Regions from separate parts of the Homo sapiens genome. Here region 2 is linked to region 1. Evidence: promoter capture Hi-C in human tissues and cell types (Jung and others, 2019). All regions are on one chromosome and are shown on one strand. The core of a region is centred on a gene start or on the middle of the fragment in contact, and the rest is flanking DNA. Distances in the headings are between cores, read along the strand shown. Region 1 holds the start of GPR149 (G protein-coupled receptor 149). Region 2 overlaps GPR149 (G protein-coupled receptor 149).

What was found. Contacts are between HindIII fragments. The study calls those that stand out against the background at their distance.
Region 2: a fragment that was not itself captured here is called in contact with the fragment with the promoter of GPR149 in region 1 in 1 of the 25 tissues and cell types used here (stomach).

The regions. Positions count from the first base shown.
Region 1 is chr3:154,427,582-154,433,311 of GRCh38, forward strand. It overlaps GPR149 (G protein-coupled receptor 149), which reads right to left and starts at 2,609. Exons shown (of 4, transcript NM_001038705.3): 1 at 1,054-2,609; 2 at 1-127. The coding sequence starts at 2,034. The HindIII fragment of the contact is 11,418 bases long and covers 1-5,584 here.
Region 2 is chr3:154,382,450-154,388,179 of GRCh38, forward strand. All of the region lies in intron 3 of GPR149 (G protein-coupled receptor 149), which reads right to left. Among named protein-coding and RNA genes, the nearest start is that of GPR149, 45 kb to the right of the region's middle. RefSeq lists an enhancer at 1,367-1,536. The HindIII fragment of the contact is 3,757 bases long and covers 292-4,048 here.

The DNA.
Region 1 (5,730 bases), core at 1,359-3,858:
AGTGGGTCCAGCGTTTGGACAAGACAAACACTGGGGTTACAGTGGTGGCCAGCAGGGTAAGTAGAAAGCTGAATGTCTCCAAGGGAAGGCTCTGAAACCCCACGACGTTCTGGACCACCATGTGCATCTGCAAGGGCAAGAGAACTTCAGACCTAACCTAAAATTATACTTTGTACTTCTCAAGCCTTTTCTCCACGCACGCTGCCTCAGTTCCCTTTCCAGTTCCTTCTCCTGATGGACAGCGGGGACCTCTGCTACGGAGCTGGCTCCCTGTCCTTGGTGATGGGCTCCTGGGAACGGCGGGGCACACCCCCAGGGTTGGGAGGGGTTTCAGCTTTTGAGTGCCGGATCTGCGCCCGCTGCCTATTCAAGACTCCACCAGAAAGGCACAGTCTACAACGTGGGGGACGCTAGCTAGGAAACAGGCGTCCGTGAAACCCGCATCTGATTCTCCGAATGGCCTTTGTCGCCTCCCTGGACCCTCACCTCCGCCCATGCGCGCTCGTCACAGTGGGGCGCCACTCTGCCACCTCTTAATCGGCTTCCTCCTGGAAGGAGGAACAAAAGCCTGTTTTGTTCCCTGTCTTCTCCCTCCACAACTGATCTCTCCTCCCCTCTATCCCGCCCTGCTGGAGATGGGCGTCGTCCTCTCTAGGCGGGAATGGAACGGCGAGAAAGGGATGACAGAAGGTTGTGGGGAAAAAACCTTTTAATTCCCTCTTTCCTTTTCTGAATACTCTCTGATTTTGCTGTGTGAGACAATATCCTTGGCCACCACCGATATGGAAAACTAAGTCGCTCGCGACGGAAAGCGATCCCCATGCCCCTGACTTTTGAAAGGAGAAGCATTTAGTAGTAAAGGTTTCGCAGCCAACTAGCCCTGTCCCGAACTGCCTTCTTCTAAGTGCATGTCTAAAACCCAGCGAGATACACTTGGAAGCGGACTTCACTGTGTGTCTCTTGGTGACTCCCCAAACCGGCGACGCCGGTCCCAACACTCATTTACACTGTCTGGCACACACACTCGCGCTTTGTGAGCAACTGCACTTTTACCATCATGGGCAGCCAAAGGACGACTTTTGTAAGCGCTAGGATCAAAGCGAAGCGCTTCTGCGCTACGCTCACGGTGAAGCTCCTGGTGCCATAGAGAGTCCCCCGGTTCTCACGCCTGCAGGCTTCAGCCCCAGCGGCAGCGGGCGCACCCGGTCCGAACACGGTGTCGGAGCTCGGAGAGCATCCCCCAGAGCGCCGCAGACTCGGGCCTGGAGCATCCTCTGGGGACAGGGAAACCACTCTCCCCGCAGTAGGAGGGGTCCCAGGAATTGAAGCTCCACGGGAAATTTCCTGGTAGTTGGAGTGGAGTCTCGGCGGCTCCTCCGAACACAGCAATCGGTGAGTGAGTGGGACTGAGAGGCCCACGAGGAGTCCGAAGGCCAAAGCGTACACGATAGAGAGGAATAGTACGTAGGAGCTGGAGCAGTCCACCAGGCAGCCCCAGGGCGTGCGCACGAAGGCGCCCCAGCCGCACAGCGGGAGCGCCGAGAGCAGCAGACTGGCTGCCCACACGGTCAGCACCACGCCGAGCACCTGGCCCGATCTTCTGGAGGCTGTCTGGCTCCCCACACCTCTGTGCATCGTATAAAAGTTGTAAGAGACTAGGAGAGTCGCCTTCAAGTTGCTAGAGAGGCCCTGGCATAAATACATTAAGGCAGAGGTGGTGCACAGAAATTGGAAGTAACCGGGGACCTCGTTTGGCCACTGCAAAAACATGAAGATGGTCACCGACAGGACGCTCATGAGATCATCCACAGACCAGGAAGCCACAAGCATGGACACAACAGTTCTGTTCTGCATTTTCAGCAGGGAAATTAGTGAATAAATGCTGCCCACCAAGGCTGCAAAAGTCATGAGACATGTCAAGCAAAAAAGATAGATATTCAGGGTTCCTGGCGGATTTAAAAGGTCCGTAGAATTATGATTCTCTTTCCACAGGCTAGAGTCATTTGTTGATAAGTTACTGAGAAATAAAGACATTGTCCTTGGTCAATATTTAATTTCCCTTATCAATGAGTCTGATAATTTTCTCAAAAGAAAGACCGGCTGCTGCAAATCAGATTTCATTCCTCCTACCAAGTTCCCCTCTAGATGTTCTCCTTGTCAGTCCTGCAGAAAATGGTCAGCCATGTCTCCTTTAGATCTGACTCAAGCTATATTTAAAAATTAGGTTCCATTTCAAGCATAAAAAAAAAAAAACCCGAACAGATAACTTTTCAACATTCCAATTAAAAACAAAGCAAAAACTCCTTCCCACCATCAAGTTTCAGGGAAGAAAGCCAAAAAAATAAACAAAACAAAACTCTTCAGGTACATTAAAAACCAATGATGTCTGGATCCTTTGGGGTCCTTCTTATGGAGCAAAGCAGCTTGTAGCTTGAGATAATCAAACTCTGTTCACTTTTAAGAGCAGTAAAATGATGCATTTGGTTCCAGAGCTGGATTCAAAGGCAGGAGATTGTCAGGTAGGTTTCAGCTTTGAAGGTGGAGAGAGAGAGAGAGACAGAGAGAGAGAGAGAGAGGGCGAGCGCGAGCCAGTCAGAGGGAGCTTGTGCACAGAATCCCATCTGAACCGCTGTGTTCTTCAATCAGCCTGTGATCCTCGGAGCTGCAGGAAGGAGGAGTCAGCTCCAAGCAGGAGAGAAGCAGGAAAAAAAGGGAGGGGAGTTCAGTGTGTGAACAAAATGATATACGTATATCTTAGACTGACTCTTTCAAAGCAAGAAACGGTGTACTTGCTAAGCTTCCCCTTTGGTTTCAACATGTAAAATTAGTCCAAATACTTGCTCAGGCTTGATGTGAACTACAAATATAACCTGTGAGAGGTCTAAGCTACTCCAGTAACTAAGGGACTGCTTTTATTCTTACCTAGACTTTCTGCTTCATAATCCATTGGAGGAAGAATATCATCAATCCCATGCATAAGAGTCAGATGTATCAGATTTCTTTTAAAAAAATAGTGTACTTAAGATTGTCGTTATAGTCCTCATTACTCTAAACGGGATTATACAGAATCTTTGGATAGAGTCACACTAGCTTTAGACATTTATTTATAACTATTTTCTGTCAATGGTATCAAGTAAGCAGGCTGTCATTCGAATAAATTATATGTCTAAGTATCCATAAAGTCGGAAGATATTACATAGGGCCTAAAAGGAAGATCACCCTACATTTTTAACCAGAGTATTTGGGACATACAATAGTTGTATCTCTTAATGGTCAATTTTGCAAGATGCGTGATTTAGCAAAGAAGTATCTAACAGAAGTACTTCTGGTCCAGCATTTCCCAGGATGCTTTAGGGCAGCATTCTTCTCAGCTTAGCCTCATGACCAGATGGCTGCATTCTCCCACATAGTGCTGGAGGTTTAAATGGAAACAGGGGAAGGGAAAGGAAATAGTTGATATTGATAATGATTTAATAACTGGAAGTAGTAATAGAACTGCGATCATTCTTTTCATTTTAGAAATAACTGAAGTATCATTTTGAACCCGAATCTGTTCAAGTAGAAAATGGTTGCATTAGTCATTACCAGCCACACCCTTCAATAAACACAGCAGGTATTTCACTTATCTTGATATGTTGATTGTTTGATTTTCCCCCTTACTCAGCAAATGGAAACAAAAAACACATGTAACAGCTAGCTCAGCACTCTAGCTCTCCCTACTGATAGTATAGACTGTGTAGGGCTGTGTGAGTAGGAAAGGTTGAGGGTATATTCATTTTAAAATAATGTTGATTCAGAAAGTATGATGAAAAACAAATCTTATTTTTGAAGACTTCAAAGTTCCATGACATGCCATTCTGTCTCTTCTCACAAACCTTATTCTTCCTTGCCATAGCAAAAATATTATTCTTCAATATCGTATTGAATCCTGCATTTTCAGTTAGGTTGGACAATAAGTCTCAGATTGTTAATATACAATGAATAGAAATTAATAATAGCTACTGTAGTACCATTTCAGGTCTGAGAACATTTCCCCTATTATTATCATCATTTCTGGGTTTTCCATTAAATATAAATTTGGAAAAGGGATACTTAATCACCATGTTGTACTGTTCTTTGGGCTATTACAGAAGAAACAAGAATGTTTAGCACATTTCCAAGGGTTGGTAGCAGAACTGCAGCCAGGAGAGAGCTAGTAGAGATATCTGAATTTAACTTTAGACTCTGCTATTGCAGGATAGGTAACCTAGGACAACAATTCTTGTACTTTCTCTGGCTGTCTGTTTCTGCATCTGTAAAATAAAGAGGCATCTTAGTCTATTTTGTGTTGCCAAAACAGAATACCACAGACTATGAAATTTATAAAGAAAAAAAATATTTCTCATAGTTCTGGAGGCTGGGAAATCCAATATCAAGGTTCCAGCATCTTGCAAGGACCTTCTTGCTGCATCATCCCATGGTAGAAGGTAGAACGGCAAGAGAGCATGAGAGAAAGAAAGAGAGAAAGAGGGGGCTGAACTCACTTTTTTTTTTCTTTTTAAAGAGCCAGGGTCTTGCTCTGTCACCCAGGTTGGAGTGGCAGTGGCACCATCATAGCTCACTAAAGCCTCCAACTCCTGGGCTCAAGTGATTCTCCTGCCTCAGCCTTCCAAGTAGTTGGAACTACAGGTTTGAGCAACCATGACCAGTTACGGTGTTTTTTTTTTGTTTTTTTTTTTTTGTATTTTTTAGAGGCAAGGTCTCACTATGTTGTCCAGGCTGGTCTCAAACTCCTGGCCTCAAGTGATCCACCCACCTCGGCCTCCTAAGGTGTTGGGATTATAGGTGTGAGCCTCTGCACATGGTCTCACTTTTATAACAAGCCCACCTTCTGTAACTAGCCCACTTCTGAGGTAATGGCCTTAATTCACTCATGAGAGCAGAACCCTCGTGATCCAATCATCTCTTTTTAGGCCCCACTTTCCAAGACTCTTGCACTTGTATTAAGTTTTCAACACATGAGCTTTGGGGGACACATTCAAAGCATAGTGAGGGATTTGACTGGATTATTTTTAGAGACCTTTCCAGTTCTAAAATTAAATGATACAATTTTTAAAAGTTCAGGTTAACCTTATCTCTATTTTATTTCCTGCCTACTTTATAATAATCAACATTGTCATCTAATAAGAGGTGGAAGCCAGCAATAACTAATGCTTGGGTCTGCATGATTTCTCCTTCTCTGTGATAGCCTGGGGGCTCCTGTTTATAAGAAGGTAGTATAAGACTCAAGCAGCCTGAAATCTTGAGCCAACTGAGAGATTAAGTCTTGCTCTGGAGATCTGTATGAACCTAAAGCAAGTTTTGTATGAATGAGAGGTAAAATTTGTTGTGTAAATCACTGAATTTGTGGAGTTGACTGATAATGGATAATACCCTAGCTCATCCCAATATTGTTAGATATATTATTGCTCCCCTTTCATAGGTGAGAAAACAGAGGCATGAGAGATTAATTGATTTGCCCAAAGTCACACATTTATTAAGTTAGATTTTAAAACTGTAGTTTAGTTCTGCATTCTTAATCACAACAGATACATATTTGCTAGTAACTCCTTTTTAGTTCTCCATCCTTGGGAACACTTTCAATGGATACAGATAATCTAAAGTTTTATTTCTGCTTTTCTTTCTTTCAAAGAATGTTTGAAATGTCTCATTTTATAAAATTTTAATTTGCAATATTTTACCAGCCTTTAT
Region 2 (5,730 bases), core at 920-3,419, 46 kb before region 1:
AGATGGCTCGAGATCCCATTGACAAGTCAATTTGCAGAAAGCTAATTCACTAAAGGGTCAAATGTCAAATGACCACTTGATCAAATTTTTCAATTATCAAAATATCATATTGAAAAATAGTCCTTTTGAATATCTTCAATTAATATATTTTACTCAGCTGTATTTTAAATAATGCTCAAATTTATAAATGCTGAAAATCACGAGTCATTTAGTTTTCTTATGAGTATGAGTATGTTCCTGAAGAATAGGTTCATGAGAATATTCATATTTCATATACTCAAGAAGAATACATTCTTAATCATATCTAAACAAAGTGTGTCTTCAATATTGTTTTAATTTAATATACTCAAATTAATTTAATATACTCAAAATAAATGTTTCAACAAAATTGTTGGCACACTAGAAAATTTATTACATTCAGTGAATTAGTCATTCAAAAAATTGCTCCTTCAGGGAACTGATTTTTGATGACTTGGTCTGTTTTCAATGCGGACTGAAATTAGTGGGGCAGGATTAGGGTTGGGATGAGGGTGGTGGGATCTGGAAACAATACAGAATGGCTCTCGTTGAGAATGAAGTGAGGGCAGCCTAGGACATAGTGCCTGTGTCCATTGCTGGGGCCAGCCTGCAGGAAAAGGGGTGCTATAATAAGCCTAGATAAATGGAGGCATTGGGCTTGAGGCTACTTATTTATATCCTGCTAAAACTCAAATTGCTCTGAAAATAAATAGTGAGGCTGGATCTGTAGAAGATTAAATGAGTTGACCCAGCTGTGGGAGAACTGGGGCAGGCAGAAGCTGGGGAAACAGGAATGGGGGCGAGACATTCCACTGAGCAGGCCAAATTTATGCCATCTCAGACTTAACATATCATCTCTGCTTCTTTGAAATCATGGGCAGTTCCATTAAAGGAAATGATTCAAGTTAGGTTTGGCTGAGATTGGGGGCACCTGATTCTATAGATTTATTTCCTAGGAAGGAAGCAGTATTTCTATTTCTTACTTTGTGCGAGTCCTTCACAGTGAATATGGGGCACACTGCTTGCCATATCGAAGTAGTTAAAAAAAATGCCTGTTGACTTGATACAGTCATATGTGGACACTTGCAGACTCTTTTCAAGTCATTTATGGACACTTCCATGACAAAGTTCTGATTTATACTTTGTGTGGCAAATTTTTCAGTGTTTAGAGTTCATGGGCATATGCTTGGAAAACAGAGGTACTATAGTCATTCCTTGATATTTGAGGAGATGCTATGGTCTGGATGTTTGTGTCCCCCCAAAATTTGTATGTTGATCTTTAATCCCCCAAATTATGGTATTGGGGGACATTTTAAGAGATGATTAGGTCATGAGGGTAGAGCCCTCATGAGTAGGATTAGTGCCCTTGTAAAACAGCCCAAGGGAGCTTGTTTGCCCTTTCTCTACCATGCGACGACACAGTGAGAAGACGGTTGTCTCTGAACTAAAAAGCAGACCTTTACCAGACACCGACTTTGCCAGTGCCTTGATCTTGGACTTTCCAGCCTCCAGAACTGTGAGAAATAAGTTTTTGTTGTTTTTAAGCTATTCGGAGGAAATAAGCTATTTATAAGCTTATTTATGGTATTTTGTTATAACAGCCTGAGCCAACTAAGACAAGATGAGAGAAATTTACATACAAGATACTGCATTGAGACAATGTACTTTGCACTCAGAGTGCTGAAACTTAAAGGACATTTAGAAAACTGTGAAGATTAAAAAGCCCCAGGCGTTTACATAAAGCCTCGGGTGAGATCTTATTTTCAGTAAACTAAACTCACTTTCTCATAGCTTCTATATGTTCAGGCTCTTTAATTACATATAGCAATTAGGAACACCTCAAGCATAAAAAGAATTATTCAAGACCAAGGTTATTTGCCTCATCAGTAACTGCACCAATAATCAAGGTACATACCTCTACAGCTGTTCTAAACAACATCAGTGAGAAATACCAACTGAGACAATTATATAGTAACCATGGAAGCCTAAAAGTTGTGTTGATATGACTGGGATGGGGAAAACTCTAATACTCTGGAGACAGAAGCTTTTCAAAGTGGAACTTGGGGCTGTGCAATGTATGAAAGAATTACAAACTATAGCATTTTTAGGGCTGAAAAAGACCTGAGGCTATTTAGCTCCAATCTTCCTGTTTTTCTCAAATGCCTCATTTTTCAGATGAGAAAACACAGGCAAAGAGCCTGCTCACTGTTACACAATTAATCAGTCCCAGAGCCAGAGCTAGAGTCCAAAATCTACCCAGCAACAAGGAAGCCATCCAAAGTTCTGGGGTTTTTGTGCCCTTTTGTAGAATTACTCTGTGCCAGGTTAGAGCTAATTTAGGGCTTGTCATTGGAATTCTAACATCAGGATGACCACTGTTTTTGGCTATGGCACAACTATAGAATAGTTATCAATATTTCTCTTGGGCAGAAGAGGGCAAAATACGAATCATTGCTGCCTCCTCTTCATCTTCATTCCTGGCAAATTCTCCTATGGACTTTCTCCAAATGGATATATAAATAAAGCCTTTGATGAATATCTTTTGCGTGTGATAGTATGTGTGTCTGTGCTTCAGAAATACTATTTCTCAAAGGATATGAGTGTGTTTCCTAAAGGATAAAAGTGTGAGTGCATAGCTGAGCTTATGTGTTGAACTTGGATCTGTTTGTGCTTGGTGTTTAGATATTTTTAGCTAGAGATGACTAGATTTTCAGCTAATTTGCTAAAAAGAAATTTGTGCTATGTCTGCTGTAGGGCAGGATGATGGAATTGGAGATTATTTCACCTGGCTTTCATCCCCAATCCCTGCGAATTCTTTGGAGATGGAAAATTTAGAGCGGGCTTTCATATTTTTTGTACCGGTTGTGAACAATAAGAAGCTTGAAAATCAGAAGAGGCACTCTTACTACAGGAACAACACCCTTGGGTACAAATGTTTTGTAAAATTCCAATAAACCAATCATTGTCCTCTTTGTGAATTACTGCCTTGTCTTCTGGGGAGTGAGCAGGGCAAAAAGAGTTGAAAGTGAATACTGGAGTCTGACACTCTGGGTAGGATGTTGATTAGGCTTTTTACCAGCTGTGTGATTTTAAGGAAACTCTTTTTGGTTTGTTCGTTTTTATTATACAATCACATCTACACATGAACTTCACTCTTAGGAGCTGTATAAGGGACAGTCACACATCCAAAGATCTCCAATGCAATAACTTTCACAAATTTCTTTCTTTCTTTCTTTCTTTTTTTTTTTTTTTTATAAGGAGTCTTGCTCTGTCGCCCAGGCTGGAGTGCAGTGGCGCCATCTTGGCTCATTGCAAGCTCCACCTTCCGGGTTCACACCATTCGCCTGCCTCAGCCTCCCTAGTAGCTGGGACTACAGGTGCCTGCCACCACGCCCAGCTATTTTTTGTATTTTTAGTAGAGACGGGGGTTTCACCCTGTTAGCCAGGATGGTCTCGATCTTCTGACCTCGTGATCTGCCTGCCTTGGCCTCCCAAAGTGCTGGGATTACAGGCATGACACAAATTTCTATAACTCTCTGACTCTTCAGGTACAGGTAAGGGGAATGACTAATGGCTTGTGACAAATATTAGTTGAATGAATACATTATTAAATACATATTTAATGAATAAAAATATCTAATATTTGAAGGATATTTCATACTTTTATCTTGTTTTACCTTAATATCTGGTGAAGTGAGTGTTTTCATCCTCCTTTTTAGTTAAGGGAATTGAGAGTCAAAAAGAGGTCTAACAATAGTTGTGAATCAGGACTAGACAATACCAGTTTTGAAGTACCTGGTTCTGACTCCAAAGACCTGCAATTATAACTTACACAATTGCAAAGAGCTACACATCATTTCTAAAGACGCAAGAATGTCTGTCTACCTTTGTTTGCAACAGTACAGGCTCAGCCTGACGAATTCCCACCAGAGATTCATACCTGATGTCAAGGGCATACTCTGTTGAGAAACCTGGGTGGCACTGTCTCATAGTGTGACTCTGTTGTCATAAGAAAAGGCTGTTGGTACAGACATTTAAAAACAGAAGATCAGAGTTTCAAGGTTGAGCTTGTATTCATCTCCTTACTGCACAGGAAGCCCTTTGTAGTGCAAACCAATTCCTTCAAGCAACATGTGTCATCCCCTCAGGAGATATCACCTTCTACTCTTTGATTTCACCTAGAACCTGCCTTAGGGAGACTGTGTTCTATGGACAAGCTACTCCTGTAAAAGACATGCTGAAGAAAACAAAAGATTAAGGACAAAAAAGGAAGCAAAACCACTGCGATTGAATTCTCATATAGCTGATGTTAAGATTTGGATAGCTAAAAAATAATGTTATAATTTTTTCTTATAAAACAATTCCCAATAATAAGGTTAAATATATCTGAATAGAAGAGCCAATATTTTAAAAATTTTATAATAATGTATGTATTTCCCTCCTATTCAACTGGGATAAATTCAGCTTTTCTTTTTTGGAAGAAGGAGCTAAAGTATATTTTTCTCCTTTTTTTTTCCCTATTAAGGGAAATAGCCGAGAGAATCTCAGGATTATGCTACAACATATGTTAACATTTAAAACCATTAACTGAATATATATAAAACAATACCTATCATGACAATTTTTGAATATACATTTTATACTGAAAAGAAATGCGAAAAGTTCCTGGACATTTTATGCTTATGGGTGTTGAGCACACTCTCTTCCTCCCACCTTTTCTGCAGGGTGAACTATTATTCCTTTCAAGGCTCACAGTGAAAGCTGTAATGACTTCACTTCTCTTTTTGGCAAAATTACCCGTGCCTGTAACACTTTTGCACAAACTGTAGAACTCAATTTTCTTGAGGTACTGTCATTATCTGTGCCCTCCTGTTCCTTCTGATCTCTGAGTTACTTGAGAACAAGGGCTTGGTCTTATTTGGCACTGAATGTTTCAGACCCAGCCTTGGGCTCAATGAATGTTTGTTGAGTGAATAATATAGGCCATGTCAGAAGCATACTCATATTCTTCTCACGGTGTCTGAGGTTGAAATGCAGTGAGCCTGACATAAGCTCAAACCTGTCTGGAGCCAAGTATAGGTCAGATCCCATGTCTCCTTCAATTTTGGTAGAGTATGAGTCAGTGAGCCTAAATTATTTCCCCAGTTCAATCATCTACTATCTCTGGTTGTCTTAATTAAGCTTCAAAAATCTGTGCCTTCTTCCATCTCATGGGAATGGTGAAAAATAAATGAGATCACATCTAAAGAACCAGGGTTTCTTATTAGAGAGTACATTATTATCATTATATCAAGCAAGCTCCGGGCACTCTCCAGAGTGCTAAAAAATCTACCCTCAGGAAAAACAAAACAAATCAAAACTGGAAACATTTTTACTCTACCTATGCTGTTTCTATTATTAAACAATACACGTCTTGTGAACCTCTATGGCATGACCTTAAAAAAACTGAAAAAATAATAAGACAAACAGCAAGAAAAACAAGTCTAAGCATAGCTTATTTTTTTAATGTGTGGGGACATTGATTTTTATAACTTGCCTCAATGTGCAGAGATATTTAAAATAAAGAAATAATCATTTTTGCCTATTTTGAATTGCAGGAAAGCATATTGATATGTGAACTATATAGATTCTAATAAAATACTTTTAAAAACACTTGTTTTTCAGGTTATTTTGGAAAAGTATGCTTTAGTTAATGAGTTATTTAGAAAAATC